Regions from separate parts of the Homo sapiens genome. Here region 1 is linked to region 2. Evidence: promoter capture Hi-C in 16 types of primary human blood cells and fetal thymus (Javierre and others, 2016). All regions are on one chromosome and are shown on one strand. The core of a region is centred on a gene start or on the middle of the fragment in contact, and the rest is flanking DNA. Distances in the headings are between cores, read along the strand shown.

The links. Contacts are between HindIII fragments. The CHiCAGO score rates a contact against its expected background, and 5 or more counts as called.
Region 1: a fragment that was not itself captured here is called in contact with the fragment with the promoter of ATP6V1H in region 2 in 2 of 17 cell types (total B cells and non-activated CD4 T cells); the score reaches 7.0 in total B cells.

Annotation. Positions count from the first base shown.
Region 1 is chr8:56,989,889-56,995,722 of GRCh38, forward strand. It overlaps BPNT2 (3'(2'), 5'-bisphosphate nucleotidase 2), which reads right to left and starts at 3,979. Exons shown (of 5, transcript NM_017813.5): 1 at 3,311-3,979. The coding sequence starts at 3,697. RefSeq lists a silencer at 3,536-4,095. The HindIII fragment of the contact is 182 bases long and covers 1,462-1,643 here.
Region 2 is chr8:53,839,235-53,844,700 of GRCh38, forward strand. It overlaps ATP6V1H (ATPase H+ transporting V1 subunit H), which reads right to left and starts at 4,011. Exons shown (of 14, transcript NM_015941.4): 1 at 3,800-4,011; 2 at 2,344-2,491. The coding sequence starts at 2,456. RefSeq lists enhancers at 3,960-4,099, 5,397-5,446 and a silencer at 4,170-4,319. The HindIII fragment of the contact is 7,596 bases long and covers 1-5,466 here.

The DNA.
Region 1 (5,834 bases), core at 303-2,802, 3.1 Mb after region 2:
TCTCTCTTGGGCCTGTTCCTTTGAACTAGATTCTTTTCCTCTGTTTTCAGTGCTTATGTCTACACCAATTACTAGTTATTCTGATTTTACAGAAGAGGAAACTATGGCTCAAAAAAGTTAAATGACTGGCCAGTACCACCTAGGCTGGTGACTGCACAACATGTCAATGCAAGTGCTCTGTGCACTATATTAGTGCTTCTCAAACTTTTCTGGGACATACTTCTGTTGAAAGAGAGAAGCTTAACTTCCATCTTATAGGTCAAGGAAGGCACAGACCCAAGTGGCTGCTACCAGCTTGGAGTACCATGCTTTACCTTCAAATAAGTCATTGTCAAAACTTTGAACAAATCAAGTTGAGGACAGGAGCCCCTCAAACAGACAGTCCCCTGTACATTAAATCAAAACTATAAATCTCAGTTTGTCTGTTCTGTGGCTGCAAACCCACTCCACAAAAGTATCTTCAGCCTTCATTTTCATTGTTACCTGCAAGGATAAAGAGACAGTGCCATACAAATGGCTGGAGTTACTATTACTTTGACACAATGAAGTCAAGCATTGCCAAAGTGTTTAGGAAGAGGAGACTAGCTGCCCAGAGGACTCTCTGGGATCTCTAACCTGAAGAAAACTGAAGACAAAAGGAAATCCAGGGAGCCTAGGTGAAATCTGAGTTTTGTTAGGATAGCACTCACTTCTCTGGAGTATGATTCCTCAACTTGGGCATCAATTGACAAATGGAGCAGATAATTCTTCGTCATAGGGGGCTGTCCTGTGCATTATAGGATGTTTACCCTCTACCTACTAGATGCCAGTAGCATCCCACCCCTGGTTGTGACAATCAAAAATGTCTTCCGACGTTGTCAAATGTCAGTTAGGGGACAAAACTGTCTCCAGTTGAGTGCTCTAGGATAACCCCTGGTATATCCTTTTACTGAGGAGTGAACATTACATACGAAAGCTCAGACTTCAGACTCTACATAGGAAAGTAGTGGGAGAAAACAGATCTTTCTACATTTACATAGGGCACTAGGATAAAAGAAAGAAGTATCTGTTGCTTCTCAATGGTCTTTTTCCACTAGGAAGTAAACTAAGTGGGATATAATTTAAGTTTCTTACCAAGAAATTTGGGGTGAGGCTTCAAAATTAACCAGGGATTTAAGACTGTACTTCTGGGCATTAGGAGAGGGGAAGGCAAAAAAGGAGAAAGACTCCTTTTAGGTTGATTCTCCACTTAGTTGGCTACAATATTTGGCCTCTAGCCTATAACACAGGGGTATAAGGAGATCGCTCAACATGACACCATCCCTACTTTGACACTGTATAAATGATCACAAACCTCTTCTATTCCTTCAGTCATGACCCAACATGAATACTACAGAAGCACATGCAAACATTCAAATAGTCACAAGAAAACAAGAAGTTGTTTTATATTAAGCCAGAGACTTCAACATCTGCAATTCCAAAAGCTTAGCTTTTATGTTAATAAAATGCAGCTCACTGCCCTTGGCAGCCATTCCCTTATTGTTTGCTAATAAATGAGAATGCACACACATACAGATGTGTTTTCAACATTTAAGATACTTTTGTTTTTACTTAAAAAAAGAAAAATCAACTCTGCTTGCTGTATTTCACTATTACTGCTTTTAAGCTTCTACAATTATAAGTTTTAAATAGCCTTCTAAAAATCTAGCTAAAATGTGGGATAGTTCATATAAGCTGGAGTGTCACGAGCCTCAGATTTCCCGTTTGTATAGTAGGCAGAAATAAAATTTACTTCTTAAAGTTGCTGTTAAGGATCAAATGAAGTCCTGTGTAGCCAGTATTTGGGCATGTAAAATATATTCAATAAATGGTTATTATTAGTACTGTTATAACCATTAAATAGCAACTTCTCTGAATCTCCTGTTTCCTCTATAAATTCTTGGGGAAGGAAACACGTATGTTTTGGAAAGGGGGTAAAATATTTCATAAACACACCTTACATCTAGATGCAAAAAAATTTAAGTATTATTTGTGATGATAAAAACAGAGTAGGGAAGAAGAAAAAGTGGAAATATTCTGTGTTTTAAGTAGAAATTTGAAAAAAAAAATTCTAACGTTAATTACATCTGGTATCCAGTAGCTCATGTTAGGAAATACAATGTTCCTTTCCACTGGAAAAAGAAAAAGACGAAAGAAAAGGGAGGAAGAGAGGAGAATAAAAAACAAAACCAAAGCAATATTATGATAGACTGGAAGAAGCCTTATGCAAAATACATAACTAAACAATGACAATATTCTCCTAACTCTTTCAAGATCAGCAGTAAAAGGTCAGTCACCTTCCAAAGAAGCCTGGGTTTGCACATCACTGTTTATCTAATAAAATTCCAGTGAAGACAATTTTTCTTCCCAGTAGCCAAAACTACAGTTAGGTGAGTTAAGATATACGTTAATAAGGTGCTGCTACGCTATGCTGAGCTCTTCCTCAACAAAATTTGCAGTTTCTGGAACTGCAAATTTTAAATATGCTTTATTCAACTCAATAGCAGCTCCAGTGAAATGATGAATTCAAAAAGTATTAATAACAAATCCAAAATGTCTGGATTTCCTTAAGAAAATGTCAACTCCCTTCCCAGAAACCTACCCAAAGAAAAGCCAAATGTTATTTAATTCTTATTCTCTGGAGTAAATATGGATCTTTAATCAAGGGCCAGGTAGGACCAACAGCTGGTATATTTCTAAGTACCTCCTTAAAGGGCCCGCAAACTATAAACTTTAGAGCGTCCTGACAAAAAGACAGCGAAATGAGCATACTCATCCCCCACCCCCCCACCCCGACTCCCGCGAGCGCACACACGCACACACAAATGCCCCGCACACTAACAGCTCTGCAACAAGACTCGGTCTTTCAGCTGGCTACTGGCAGGCCACCCAGAAAATGTGTACTCCAGTTTCGACCCTTCTAGGGATGAAATCAAGGAAGGATAGAGAGTCTTGGTGGATTTTAGCCAACCCCTTAATTCTACAGAGGAGCCTGAAGCTGCGGGTGCAATTAACTTTGTCAGCCTTTTCGTTTCAAGGCCTTCTGATCCCAGGTACACACGGCGCACACCCGACCCAGGACGAGCCAAAAGGGCACGGGCCCTGAGTCAGACTACGTGCAACCTCACCCAGCTCCTCTGCTGTCTGTCTGACCTTGTGCACGTTAACTTCTGCGTCTCAATTTCCACATCTACAAAATGGAACCAGAAGCTCCACATCCCATACTGTTAAGAGTCGACGGGCCGAGACGCGCTACCCGGCTCGAGTGGGCGCTCCGCCCGTGGGCTCCCACCTGGACGCTGGGGAAGGCGGTCTTGAGCAGGTAGAACATCTTGCGGTTGGACAGCACGTCGCCGCTGGTCATCTTGTCCTCGGCTCCCTCGCGCGTCTTCCCCTTGGACTTCTCGTGGAGGACGTTGCTCTCGCGGACGCGCCTCACCTCGTCGCCGCCGCGGACTGCGGCCAGCACTGACACAGCCAGCATCTCGCGCAAGTCCACGGTGCCCCCATCGGCCGCGGCCGCGGGCCCCGCCGCGCCGCCGCCAGGCTCGCCGCCCAGGCCGAAGAGGCTGAAGCGGCCGGCCAAGAAGCCCGAGTAGAGGTGGTAGAGCACGCCGAGCCCCAGCAGGCAAAACACTGCCACCCCCAGTGGGGAAAGGCGGATGCCCATGGGGGCCATGGCGTGGGAAGCCGGGCGCTCCGGGCTGCGGCTCTCACAGGCCTCCAGCGCCCGCCGCCGCCGCCGCCGCAGCCGCCGCGCTCCGGGCCAGGCGCCGCGCGGGCTACACTGGCGCCCGCTCCCCGGCCCCGGTGCGCCCCATCACTCCCTCCCAGGAAAGGCCGAGTTGCGCCGCGAAGACCACCAACGCCGCCCCGCGCGCCTGACTCGCCAGGCAGCGCGCTCTAGGTTCTTCCGCCGGCCGGCTGGTCCGACTTCCACGTTAGCCTACGGCCGCGAGGTGAAAGGGGAGCGTGGGTGTGTATCCGGGTTACGCGACGGGGCGGGGCGAGGGCGAGGGCGAGGGGCGGGGAGAGCTGGGCACCTCCCCTTGGGGCGGGGCGGGGCGGGACAGGAGGCGCTGGACTGAGCTGCCTTCCTTGGTCTGGGTGGGAAGGTATTCCTGGAAGTGGCGAGCAGCAATCCGCACAGGACAGTGTGCTGTGCTGAGTGCCTTGTGGGTGTTTAAATTAAATATCCCATTGTACGACTATGGCTGGCTGTAATAAACCCACAGTAACAGTCTAGTCTTCTCATCACTCTCAGATTATTGAGGAATGGAGGAAAACACAATAAACCATTTTAAAAGATTGATTTGCAAGCTTTTTTAGCCAGCGGGGGTGTAGACAGCCTGTACCTTTAAGTCGCTTCTCCGCGCTCTTCCCGGCAGGACGGGGAACTGGGCGGTGAGGGGAAGAATTGTACTTGGCTCTTCATTCTGTTGACATCTTTGTCGTGCCCTAAATGCTTATGTGTGTATAGAGTTTCTCTCCTCCACCTGCCAGAATAAACCATCCTCGAAGCAGCTGAAAAACATGCCTTGATCCGGGTTTTTCATAATGAAAGAAAGCAAACCAGGCTTCTCTCATTTCCAAGGGTACTCGAGCCTGGCTCTCCTACCAGAGCTTAAGAAGAGGAATTGCTTGACAGAGTCCACTTAAAATAGAGGTTATCCGGAGATGGTCAGTCTAGAACATGTAATCTTTGAGTCAGCGTAGGCTCTCGAAGTATTTTGACAGAAATAACTACCTTCTACTATAACACCGATCTTAGCTAGAATGATAGTGAATACTTTATAAGTATTCATGAGTTTATCTTTAATCTTAAAAGTGAATATTAAGATGTATAGTATTGTTCTTAAATGTTAAAATATCTATATAAATCAACTTAAAATGTAGCCTGTTTTACTGTTCATAGCAAAACAGCATTGGTTTTAAGTGGACTTTAGAATTAACCACCTGAAAAACTGCAAGTATACCAAACTTCTAAACATCCATTGCTAAGCAAGTCATGTAGAGCCTGACCTTTACCGCTTACTTAGAGTTCAGGGCATCCCTAGAATTTGCATGTGATTATACACATACAACAAAAGCACTGCCAGATTATACACATACAACAAAAGCACTGTGATTTCCCTGCCAGAATCACAGCACAAAATCAAGTACAAATACAAATCAGTGAAAGAACAATCCCTAGAGTATTGACAGCACCAGAACTTAAAGAACTAGCATTGCCTTTCTTGTCAGCTTTTGAGAGTAACTTTGCAATGAAGCAAAGCTGCTTTCAAATATCTAAAAGTGAATGTCACAGAGTAATTCTCAAAACCCATCCCAGGGATAAAGATAAACATCAGGGTTGAAATATAAAGGTTTAAGTTAAACAGAACCACCCCAACCTACACTATGACAGCAGCAAAAAGATGAGTTGGATAGTAATCATGTCAATATTAAAAGCATCATTGGGAAGTCTGAGATTTCTCAAAATAAACGGAATAATATTTTCCAAGGATATTGGAGAATAATATAGGGTCACATTCAGTGTGGCAGTATACACAGTATACCACTGAGGGAAATACTAAAAGCTCTGGAGCATTTCTACTGCAAAAAAGGGATTTAAGACTTGAGGGAGAAAATGCCAAGGTATGTGGAAAGAAGGAGTCACTTGAAAGATTGTAGCTCCAAGAGGCGTTCTAGCACTCAAGTGATAATTGATCATAGAGAATGGGTATTAACAGATAACATTTAATCGACAAAAGAAGTTATGACAATAAGAAAACATTTGATTAATTACATGTGGTACAGTGATGTCAGAAAACCTT
Region 2 (5,466 bases), core at 2,761-5,260:
AACAATATTATTCTATGTAGGCTATAAACAGATCCAGGCTTTATAAACATAAAACTCCCTGTCCTCTAGTCTAAATGCACTCTGGACTAAAGAAATTAGGAAACAGAGCTCAGAATCCTAATTTCACAGGGAATTTAAACAATTACACAAACACTGATGAACAGAGAAAACATCAGCAAGTCTCCCCTCCTCCTGTCCTTCAGTCAGTGGCCCCACAATAACCCAGTTCCTTAAAGTAGGAATCCAGAAGTCATCCAAGACTTCTCTTTCACCCCCACACACCAAATCAATCACTAAGACTCTCTCAATCTAACCAATTCTATCTATTCCAATACCTTGGTTACTGCTATAGCTTCTCTCTACCTCTAGACTTATCACCTACAAACTCACCCTTCATGCTGCTAGTAGAACAATTCAATCAAGAGGCAGATATGGTCTTCTAACTCCCGGCTACAAGATTCATTGGTTTCCAACACCTACAGCTCCTTGGAAAATGGTGAATGGTCTCAAAAAGAGGGCTCTGGGACACACACTCCCACCTCCATTCTATCATTTTCATCTGTTTTACATGCTAACTTCATATCAATCATGGGCTTCACAGCTTAAAAATCAGCTTGAAAAGCACTGACTGATAGGATCAAGTCCAAACTCCTTCCAACCACACACCCACACACAGCATCTTCACGATCGGCCCCTGGCTGCCTCTCTAGCCTCAGCTCTCTGCATTGCCTGCCTCCAAAACATGTATGACTCCCACCCAGTGTGCTGTTTTTGCTTCCCTGCCTTTGCTCACATTATCTGTTCTATTCCCAAGGCTGCTCCTACTTGCCACATGGCTAAATACCCATCATCCTCAAAAACTCAGTTCAGGGACCAGCCCCTTCAGGAAAATTTCCAAGGGGTAGAATTACTTGTCTTTTTTATGTGCACCTGCCAGACCCTGTGCATCTTTCTATTGCCACAGTTAACATACTGAATTAGAGCCGGGCACGGTGGCTCACGCCTGTAATCCCAGCACTTTGGGAGGCCAAGAGGGGCAGATCACGAGGTCAGGAGTTCGAGACCAGCCTGGCCAACATGTTGAAACCCTGTCTCTACTAAAAATACAAAAAAATTAGGCGGGCAAGGTGTCAGGTGCCTGTAATCCCAGCTACTCGGGAGGCTGAGGAAGGAGAACTGCTTGAACCCGGGAGGCGGAGGATGCAGTGAGCCAAGACTGCCCCACTGTACTCCAGCCTGGGCAACAGAGTGAGACTCTGTCTCAAAAAAAAAAAAAAATAGTGAATTAAAATGATCTATTAATACATCTGACTTCCCTACTAGAGTTTTAGTTCCTTCAGGGACAGTACTCTGTATGGAATTTTTGTAGCCTCAAAGCCTGGAAAAATGCCTCAAACTTGGCAGGTAATCAATAAATGTTTGATGAGTGATTAAATTAACAGAAATTAAAGGATCATTTTTGTACATTATAGATCCCTCCTACAACAACACAAACTATTAATACTAATATAAAATTAACACTAATATAAAACTAGATTCCTCAATTTGTTTTTCAAAATGCATATGCAAATCTGAACTGAATTCCTTGGTAACTCAGTTATAAATATACCAAAATAAATATGAAGTCAATAAAATATGGTCAAGAATACATGAATGCTCACTTTATAGATAAATACAAAATACTGAAACATCAGCACATTAAATATTAATACATACAAGAAAGAAGGGGGAACTAAAATGTATTGTATTCAACATACTAATGCTTGTATTCTACTGTGCTAATAAATACATTATTTCAGCAACAAGCCTGTGGGGTATGTCTCCCCATTTCACATTTTACTTTATTGAGCCTCAGAGAAGTTAAGTGATTTGCTTAAGATCACCAAACTAATAGCAAGAACCAAAACTCAAATCCAAGTCTCTCAACTCAAATATCTGTGCTTCTTATTAGTTGTATGCACCACTCTAAAAAGGCCACCTGCCCCCATGCTGATTGCCAGGGCATATCAGACCAGTCTAGCAGGTTTTGCCCCTCATCCCCTTCCTCCCTCCGTTAGCCCAAGGACATTCCTCCTATGTTTCCCACTTATTCCAAAAGTACTTCCCCAGGCAGCCAGAGAAGGTCAAAAGCACCATAAGCCGCTCTGCTTCCCCACTAGGGCGCCAAGCTGTTTCCACCCCACTACACTTAACTCCCTAAGACAGCTAATTATTCTGAAGAGGAAGTGTTTCTTCCACATTTTTCAGTATTTTCCCTGTATTTCTCTCATAGAAGCATGACCATGAAAAAGTCTGATGCAAAAGCATATGACTGTCCATGATTCACAGCAAATTGGTACTTACTGAAGATAGGATTGCCAGTTGACTTTGTTTGCACGAACTTCTGCAGCCTTGGCAGCAATAATATTGGTGGGGACAGCAGCATCCACAGCACCTCGGATATCCATTTTGGTCATCTAAACTTCGTAATCTTGAATGTCTTTCAACAAATCTTCAATTTTGATGCAAGGTAAAAACAGAATACGAGGTGTTTCTTTTTTTTACAACTATTAATATTATGATTATGAATATCGTGATCACTTTAATCTCCCCAGGCATTCAACTCAAATATTAAATGTCCTAAGTCTGAAAGTATCATTATATTTCAAATATTGTCCACTGCTCCATAAAAGAGTTCTTTAGGCTTTTGCTTTTCTAGAAAAATTTTTTTCATTATTGGCACTAACACTGCAGTAAGATTTTTAAAGCAATCACCTAATATACTGAAATCAGAAATCATGATTAAATAGAATAGGTATAAATATGGGAAAAATTGTAAATTTATACAATTGTGGTTAACTTTTCTCATAGAGAAACAATAAGAATATGAATAGTACGGATAAGGCTAGTTTTATAAACATTTACTAAGCATCATTTTGAAGTGGCACATTAAAAATTCTAAGTCCTTTCGAAAATTACTCAAATTAAAATACACAAAGTGGGAACATAATTTCTTAGAAGACAGTGCTTTCCTTTTCAAACAAAATTCATAGTATTTGCAAAATCAAAATTCGGAGAGAAAGTTTTAGAACAAATACATATTACAATTTAGGTAAGCCAACAATGGCGGTCTGGCTGGACGACAAGAACCTACAATAATGAAATTCTATGTAATTCTCACTCCTAAACTTCCAGATACAAACGACTGATTTTAACACAAAGCAAAATACAGGTTGCCACTTGCAAAACATAAATTCACGGCCATGGCCACAAAGAAGTTAAAATCCTACCCAAAATTATATTCCGGGTTTCCAACGATCTTAATCAATTTGGAACTTAATCTCTGTATCTGAAGATTTGCTGTATAAACAACCCTGGGCAGCGCGAACGACAGGGCCCAGGAAAAAACAGGCTTCAACTGGGCCAGGCTGGAACTCTGCAGCCAAGGAGGCTCAGCCTCAGCGGCCCGTCCTGGCGTAGCTCAAGGTGTCTCTAGACAATTACCTAAGTCCCTGAACTACTCGCACCCCCAGCGATCCAGGGCCGTGGCCCAGTCCTGGAGAAGGTATACTTTTTACCCCTCCCCCTCCACTCTCCTGCCCGCCCCTGACGTTTCTTCCCCCTGCGAGAAAGGCTCCAGAATTTCGCTTAATAAACCTGGTTGAGGCCTGGAAGAAAAGCAATCTGGCAACCGGGGGCCGAAGAACAGGAGAGGACCAAGCGGCGAGACACCAGCACGCACCAGGCAAGCTGGAGAAACTGCAAGAGTCGCCTGACCTGGTCTGCAGCCTGAGACCAAACAACGCGAGGGCGGCCTTACCTCGCGAATCCTCGGGACCCCACAACGCACCCAAAGCCGGCAGGGAGGGTGGTCCGGGGCGCCGGGGACACAGCCGGGCTGGGGCGCCGCGTCAGAGCCAAGTAGGCGTCTCCTGTCAGGTCCAGAGGTCTGAGCAGTGGAGGGAGACTCCGGGAGCCGAAAGTGAAGCGGGTCCCGCACCAAGGAGACGTTGAGGGCCGCACAGGTAGAAGGAAGCCAGGGCGGCCGCAGTAGAATGACAGAGGCGCCGGTCACGTGATCGGAGGCACGTGACTGCTGCGGAAGGCGGAAGCCGGGAGACTCCAAAGCAGCAAGAGGAGGGGCGGGCGCTGCGGCGGGGCTTGTTCGGTGCGGACAACTGGATTCCCGAGTCCGTAACTTGGGCCCCGGAGCGACGCAAGGGTCGGGCCCCAGCCAGCCAGGGCAGGTGGGAGGCGGCGAGCGTGGCGGGCACGCTAAGACCCGCCGCCCCCAGACCTAGTGCCTCGCCTAGGGGAGGCCGAGGACCTCCGCCCGGAAGCAGCTAGCAGAGGCCAAAACGCTCTTATTGTAACCGTCATTCTTTTGAAAAGTTTGATTTCGCGCTTTCAAATTAATTTCCATTTGGATTTAACAGCTCCATGAAGCAGGCGTTCTTATTCTGATTTTAAATAGAAAACTCGGGCTGAGAAGTGGGTCTGAAAAGCTCTCTTAACCTAGGGTTGCACATTTAGCAAATAATAAATTCCATTGCAGTATTTACTTTTATACTAAAAAGTTATTCGTTGTTTATCTAAAATTCACATTTACAGGACGTCTGGTATTTTATCCAACAGTCCCATCTGGAGCCCAAATTTTCCCCTAGTCCAGGCCTCAGCAACTGTCTTTGCCTTAAAGTAAGAATGTACTGCCCTGGAGGTGAAGTATATATGATAGCATGTTTTCCTTAAAAAGCAATGAAAGGGGCCGGGCGCGGTGGCTCACTCCTGTAATCCCAGCACTTTGGGAGGCCGAGGCCAGTGGATCACCTGAGGTCTGGAGTTCGAGACCAGCTGACCAACATGGTGAAACCCCATCTCTACTAAAAATACAAAAAATTAGCTGGGTGTGGTGGCGCATGCCTGTAATCCCAGCTGCTTGGGAGGCTGAGGTAGGAAAATCACTTGAACCCAGGAGGCAGAGGTTGCAGTGAGCCAAGACCGCACCATTGTACTCCAGCCTGGGCAGAAAAAGCAAAACTCCGTCTCAAAAAGAAAAAAAAAAAATTCTTTGAAAGGGATTTATAACCAACCCATTTTTACTCGTAAAATTAAAGTCAGAATAATCAAAATCATGCATTGATTATGAATAAAGATATATAATAACAGTGTCAAAGATTGTACTAGGTCACTCATTCTGTCTTAGCCAGAAGTGAAAGTCTGTTGTTTTGAAAGCAAATCTAAGGGGAAAAACTTTCATAAAAGAGAAAAAGAAACCGATCGTGTACTAAGAAACTCCCAAAAGCTGAAACAGCATGTTTTCTGTGTAACTGAGCAAAGCTGGCAGTGAGGCCTGATCTTCGCATTTCCTTTCTGTATCACCTAAGCCACAGACTGGCGTGATACAGCGAGTCTCATCAGATTTCGGGAGGCTCTCCTCTTTTCCTAGAGGCACAAAGTTATGGAACAAAATCAGGAACAGTGCAGTGA